Regions from separate parts of the Homo sapiens genome. Here region 2 is linked to region 1. Evidence: promoter capture Hi-C in 16 types of primary human blood cells and fetal thymus (Javierre and others, 2016). All regions are on one chromosome and are shown on one strand. The core of a region is centred on a gene start or on the middle of the fragment in contact, and the rest is flanking DNA. Distances in the headings are between cores, read along the strand shown.

Region 1 (3,615 bases), core at 851-3,350:
GCCTCCCGAGTAGCTGGGACTACAGGCACCCACTACCACATCTGGCTAATTAAAAAAAATTTTTTTTTAATAAAAAGAGTTTATATAAGCATCCATCTTAAGAAGCTATTAATACAAATTTCTGCTGGTGAAGTTTAAATTTAAAAACAAAACATGAGCTAGGAAAAGAAGAGCCAATTGAACATAAGGTAACCAGAAAAAAGAAAAGAATAAAGTCAAGTCAAAAGGCAATAAAATAGAAAATAAAACAACAAATCCAAACTGTGGCACTTTGAAAAGATCAATAACAATGATTAGCTCCTAGGAAGACCGATAAGAGACAAGGAGACTTCACTAATTTATGTGTCAGGAATGAAAGAAGGAACATCACTACAGACCCTACAGACATTAAAAGGATAGTAAGGGGATATAAATAACTTTACACCAATACATTTGACAACTCTGATGAAATGAGCAAATTCCTTGAAGATACAAGCATGCCAATTGCAATAAAGGAATATTACAGGGCACTGTGGGAGAATTTAGCTAGGGGATTGTTCTAAGTCCAGAGGGGCCTGGAAAGTTTTCCCAGAAGTGCTATTTAAACTGAGACCTGAAGGAGAAGCAGGATTTGACCAGGTTGACAGAATTGTGTTCCAGGCCAGGGAAATAGTGTGTGCAAAGGCCCTGAGGTTGGATTGAACTTTCTGTGTCCAAAGAAAAAAGTTTACTCTAATGACGCATTTTGGTGTTTGATGACCACATGCCACATCCTTCTTGGGTCCAAACCCCCAAGCAAACCTGACTGGCTTGAACAGAAATGTTTAAAAAGATAAATGCAAACCCAGTAGTAAGAGAAACTTGGAAGTTTCTGGGCTGTAAACAGGAGGCAGTTTATCCTGTGAACTATATCACAAACTATATCCAGAATTGATCTGGAACTGGTATTCCCTTTCATGTGGCTGATCAAACTTCTGAGTCTTTTTCCTCCCTGTAACTTTACCTTGTGAGCATGCACTACCCACTAGGCGTTGCATTTCCTACTACAAGTTCTTTGAATCTAATGTCCACTGCTCTTTTTTTTTTTTTTTTTTTTTGAGATGGAATTTCACTCTTGTTGCCCAGGCTGGAGTGCAATGGCGCGATCTCAACTCACCACAATCTCCATCTCCTGGGTTCAAGTGATTCTCCTGCCTCAGCCTCCCGAGTAGCTGGGATTACAGGCGTGTGCCACCACGCCCGGCTAATTTTTTGTATATAGTAGAGACGGGGTTTCACCACGTTGGCCTGGTCTCGAACTCCTGACCTCAGGTGATCTGCCCACCTCAGCCTCCCAAAGTGCTGGGATTACAGGCGTGAGCCACCACGTCTGGCCTAATGTCTACTACTCTTAGCCCCATTCTGCAGAGCAGTATACTGAAGCCTCAAAGGAGGTAAGCCATGCCTGAGGTCACAGAGGCCAAGCCCTAACCACCATGTCCTCCCACTCCTGCCCATATTTGTTTAAATGTTGGTGCTGGTTAGGCTATGGTTTGTGTCTTGGGCATGGGTTTCCAAACATCCCACTGCTGTCACCCTGTCTCATTCCCAGGAGTTCTCTTAGAAGGAGAGACAAAAGGCTGGGCACGGTGGCTCACGCCTGAAATCCCAGCACTTTGGGAGGCTGGGGCGGGCAGATAATGAGGTCAAGAGATCGAGACCATCCTGGCCAACACAGCAAAACCCCGTCTCTACTAAAAATACAAAAATTAGCTGTGCATGATGGCTCCTGCCTGTAGTCCCAGCTACTCAGGAGGCTGAGGCAGGAGAATCACTCGAACCTGGGAGGTGGAGGCTGCAGTGAGCCGAGATCGCTCCACTGCACTCCAGCCTGGGCAACAGAGCAAGACTCTGTCTCAAAAAATAAAAATAAAAAAAGAGGAAAAAATTGTGAAAACCACCTAAACATCTCATCCATTTTTTTCCCCTCTAATCTGCAGAACCGCAACCAGAGAGGTGCGCGGGTCTGATGTGTGTTTGGGGAAGGGGTGGGGAGGGGAGAGAGTCCCTTTCAGTGCCCAAGCCTGTGTGTGCAACTTCCTGCCAGTGAGGAAACTCTCAGCTCGAGAATCAGCCCTGGTTCTCCTTTCCCCGATCTGGCCTCACAGGAGGAGTTGGCGGGGAGCCTTGGGCCCCTCTGGCCTCAGCCGGATTTCCCAGCCAAACGCAGAGAGAGATGCCCTGGACCATCTTGCTCTTTGCAGCTGGTGAGTCTGAAGCCCCCCTCTCAGATCCCCCACGCCTTTCCCCCCATCCTCTGTCCACCTTGCCGCTCCAGGGGCAGAAACCAGTGCAGGGGCTGCCGTTCTCAGGGCATCGAGGAGGCTGAGCCCTTGGCAGATGGGTTTTCCCCCTGAGCCTTGGAAACTCTCCAGTAGTGTTGGTTTTTTCTTCTTAGGCTCCTCATCACCCCCAAGTTTATGAATATCAGAAATATCACCCCTCTGGAGTCAGCTGTGCCCACACCCCATGATTCAGCCCCGCTTCGTCTCTGAAGGCTCCTTGAGTGCTGGGGCAGCAGGAGGGTCTACCTAGGGGGATATCAGTGTGGCAGGGGTGGGTGGGGGTTGGAGGCTGGACGAGGGAGGGTTTGTATAGACCTCACCTGGCCAGACACTCTGCTCAGAAGCCTGTGGGCAATCAGGAGAGAGATGGATCCCCAGGAGACCATCCTGCAGGAAGCCGTGCTCCAAAATCCGTATTCTTCACCCAAGCCTGGGAAAGGAGATAAAAGTCCTCTGCCCTTCCTTCTCCTGCCCTCCCTCTCACTCACCCCCTCCCCTTCCTGCCACCCACCTCACTCACCCCCTCCCTCCTGCCATGATGGCCTCCTTGCTGCTCCTTTTTTAATATTTATTTTTATTTTTAAATAGAGACAGGGTCTCACTGTGTTCTCCAGGCTAGTCTCAAATTCCTGGGCTCAAGCAGTCCTCCCACCTTGGCCTCCCAAAGTGCTGGGATTACAGGCGTGAGCCACTGCATCAGGTGTTTGCTCCTCCTTAAACACCCCCATTCCCCTTCCATCCCCTGGACCTTTGCCTATGCTGTTCCCTCTGTTGGAATGCCCTTCCCCAGCTCTCCAAATGGGTCCTTCCTCACCACTCAGGACTCAGCTCGTGGGAGGCCAAGGTGGGAGGATCACTTGAGGTGAGGATCTGGGCAACATAGTGAGATCCCATCTCTACACAAAATAAGCAAAATTAGCTAGCCAGGTTCACCAGCCTGGCCAACATGGTGAAACCCCGTCTCTACTAAAAATATAAAAATTAGCCAGGCATGGTGGCACATAGTCCCAGGTACTCAGGAGGCTGAGGCCACTGTACTCCAGCCTGGGCGACAAAGCAAGATTTTGTCTCTAAATAAATAAATAAAGTAATAATAAATTAAATAAAAAATAAGAGTATAGTTGTGTTGCTATGTAATAACCAATGCTATTATTGAAAACTGATGGCCAGGCATGGTAGCTCACGCCTATAATCCCAGCACTTTGGGAGGCCGAGGTGGGGGGAGTCACACGAGGCCAGGAGTTCGAGACCAGTCTGGCCAATATAGTGAAACCCCATCTCTACTAAAAATATAAAAATTGGCCAGGCATAG
Region 2 (3,310 bases), core at 140-2,639, 220 kb before region 1:
ATTTTTGTATTTTTAGTACAGACGGGGTTTCACCAAGTTGGCCAGGATGGTCTCGATCTCTTGACCTCATGATCCGCCCACCTCGGCCTCCCAAAGTGCTGGGATTATAGGTGTTAGCCACCACACCCAGCCTATTTTCTTTTTTCTTTTTCTTTTTGGAGACAGAGTCTCACTCTGTCCCCCAGGTTGGAGTGCAGTGAGGCAATCTTGGCTCACTGCAACCTCCACCTCCTGGGTTTAAGCGATTCTCCTGCCTCAGCTTCCCAAGTAGCTGGGATTACAGGCATGTGCCACCACACTGGCTAATGTTTGTATTTTTAGTAGAGAAGGGGTTTCACCATGTTGGCCAGGCTGGCTTAGAAATCCTGATCGACCTGCCTCAGCCTCCCAGAGTGCTGGGATTACAGGCATGAGCCACTGCACCTGGCCTATGCCTGCTCTTTGAGGTCAGTTTTGGTTTCATACTTTAGCCTCATTTTGCAGTTGAGGAAACTGAGGCTTAAGGAAGATAAGCCCTTTGTTAAGTATCCTCTAGTTCAGAGGGTGCAGAAGGAGCATTTGAATTCAGGGCGACCCAGGAGGATGTGGGCTCCACAAGGGTGGAGATTGGGTCTCTCTGGTTCCTCACTGTATGCGGTGCCCCGCCCAAGGCCTGCACCCACTAAGGGCTGAATAAATACTTGTTCTAAGACCAGGCCCAGTAGTGCACGCAGGTAATCCCAGCACTTTGGGGGGCCACGGTGGGAGGAGCCCACGAGTCCAGGAGTTAAAGATGAGCCTGGGCAACATAGCAACATCCCATCTCTACAAAAAAAATTAAAAATTAGCCGAGTGCAGTAGAGCACCTGTAGTCCCAGCTACTCAGGAGGCTTAGTCAGGAGGATGGCTTGAGGCAGGGAGGTCGAGACTGCGATGAGCTGTGATTGCACCACTGCACTCCAGCCTGGGCAACAGAGGGAGATCCTGTCTCAAAAAAAAAAAGCAGCAGACAGAAAGAAAACTAATTTCCTGCACAGCTTGGAGAAGTTTTCAGCACCAACATTCCACAGTTGGTTGTCTGGGTTTGGGCAGTAGGCCGTTTTCCCTCCCAGTGCCTCAGTTTCCACACCTGCAAAACGAAGCCACGGAAACGCCCTTTCAGGGTGGCCAGGGGTTCTAGGCGGCATCGCCCGGTGGCAGGGTGTTCCCAGGGTGAAGCCGCAGGGTTCCCGGGTGGGGGCGGGGAAGGCTAAATGCGGCCGGCCGGTGAGTGGCGGGAGCAGCTGCAGCCCCGCCCGCGCCCTCCCGGGTCCCTTAGTCTGGGCAGCTGCCCAGCTCGGGCCGGTCTGACCGGTTTGGGCCGCCCCGCCTGGCGCTGTGCTGGGAGGAGCCGCCGCCAGTCGCGCGGTCAGTGCCTCCCTCCAGACTCGGGAGGGTCGAGGGGGCGCGGGAGAGAGCGCGGGCGGCCGCCGGGGCTGGTCGCCTGCAGGGATGGGGGACGAGCGGCCCCACTACTACGGGAAACACGGTAGGCAGCGACCCCCGCCCGTAGCCCCGGGCCGACCCCTCGGTCCCTCGGAGGGGGCCTTGAGAGAACATGGGGCGCAGGGAAGGGGGCTGGAGGGGGAGCGCAATTGCAAATCTGCGCCTGGAGCCTCCCCACCATCAGCCAGGCCCCTTCACCCCACTTATCCCCCGCAGCCTCGCAGACGACCCTCCTTACTCTCCCCTACCCGAAGGACCTGCCCCTGTACCCCTCTGCCTGGCACTGCTGCCGGCGCCTCCTTCCCCCTATCCCACCTCAGATCTTCCCCATCTCCACCTGGTTCCGTGGTGGTCACCATTTCAGCCCTCTTCCCAGTGGGTGGCCGCCAGTTAATAAGTTTGTTCACAGTTAGTGATCCCTCCTTCCTCCCCTGTCCTGGCCTGCCAGAACTGGGGGCTTGGGTGTGGTCACCTGGAGGTGGGTGAGGCAGAAAATTCCACAGGTCTCTGAATTTTATTCTTGCCAAGGCAAAGACACCCCTAGGGGCTTTTGGGAGGGGGCTCTCCCAGCCCTGTCTTGGTTCAGGTCTCCAATCCCATCCATCTTAATCTTCTTGACTTTCAGGAACGCCACAGAAGTATGATCCCACTTTCAAAGGACCCATTTACAATAGGTAAGAGCTCTGGGTTTTGGGGGGTTCTCCCCGCTAATACTACCCCAATCCCTGTCTCTTCACACCCCCTCCCATCTGTTCTCCAACAAACTGGTGACAAATATTTGAAACTTTTTTTTTTTTTTGAGATGGAGTCTTGCTCTGTCACCAGGCTGGAGTGCCGTGGCGCGATCTCAATCTCGGCTCACTGCAACCTTCGCCTCCCGGGTTCGAGCAATTCTCCCACCTCAGTCTCCCAAGTAGCTGGGATTACAGGCTTGCACCACCACACCTGGCTAATTTTTTTTTTTTTTTGTACTTTTAGCAGAGATGTTTCGCTGTGTTGCCCATGCTGGTCTCGACCTCGTGAGCTCAAAGCGATCCACCTGCCTTGGCCTCCCAAAGTGCTGGGATTACAGGTGTGAGTTACCACACCTGGCCTGGACTTAATTTTTACCATGTTTATATTTATTTATTTATTTATTTATTTTTGAGATGGAGTCTCACTCTGTCACCCAGGCTGGAGTGGTGCAATCTCAGCTCACTGCAACCTTCCCCTCCTGGTTCAAGCACGTCTTCTGTCTCAGCCTCTCCAGTAGCTGTGACTACTCAGAGGCTACTCAGAAGGCTGAGGCAGGAGAATTGCTTGAATCTGGGAGGTGGAGGTTGCAGTAAGCTGAGATTGCGCCACTGCACTCCAGCCTGGAGGACAAGAGCGAGACTCTGTCTCAAAAAAAAATAACAAAAAAATAAAATACAGCCAGGCACGGTGGCTCACACCTATAATCCCAGCACTTTGGGAGGCCAAGGCAGGTGGATCACTTGAGGTTAGGAGTTCGAGACCAGCCTGGCTAACATGGTGAAACCCTGTCTCTACTAAAAATACAAGAATTAGCTGGGCATGGTGGCGGGCACCTATAATCCCAGCTACTTGGGAGACTGAGGCAGGAGAATCGCTTGAACCTGGGAGGTAGAGGTTGCAGTAAGCTGAGATCGTTCCACTGCACTCCAGCCTGGGCGACAGAGTGAGATTCCCTCTCAAAAAAAAAAAAAAAGTCTAGCTTGGGCAACATAGCGAGACCTTGTCTCTACAGAATGTATATAAATTAAAAAAAAAATGTGTGGTGGTGTGCACCTGTAGTCTCAACTACTTGGGAAGCTGAGGCAGGAGGATCACTTGAGCCCAGGAGTTC

What was found. Contacts are between HindIII fragments. The CHiCAGO score rates a contact against its expected background, and 5 or more counts as called.
Region 2: a contact is called between the fragment with the promoter of SLC44A2 here and the fragment with the promoter of C19orf38 in region 1, in 1 of 17 cell types (neutrophils). The highest score is 7.1, in neutrophils.

Annotation. Positions count from the first base shown.
Region 1 is chr19:10,846,315-10,849,929 of GRCh38, forward strand. C19orf38 (chromosome 19 open reading frame 38) reads left to right here and starts at 2,101. Exons shown (of 7, transcript NM_001136482.3): 1 at 2,101-2,225. The coding sequence starts at 2,195. The HindIII fragment of the contact is 13,315 bases long and covers 1-3,615 here.
Region 2 is chr19:10,624,164-10,627,473 of GRCh38, forward strand. SLC44A2 (solute carrier family 44 member 2 (CTL2 blood group)) reads left to right here and starts at 1,390. Exons shown (of 22, transcript NM_020428.4): 1 at 1,390-1,507; 2 at 2,090-2,138. The coding sequence starts at 1,471. RefSeq lists an enhancer at 1-429. The HindIII fragment of the contact is 23,966 bases long and covers 1-3,310 here.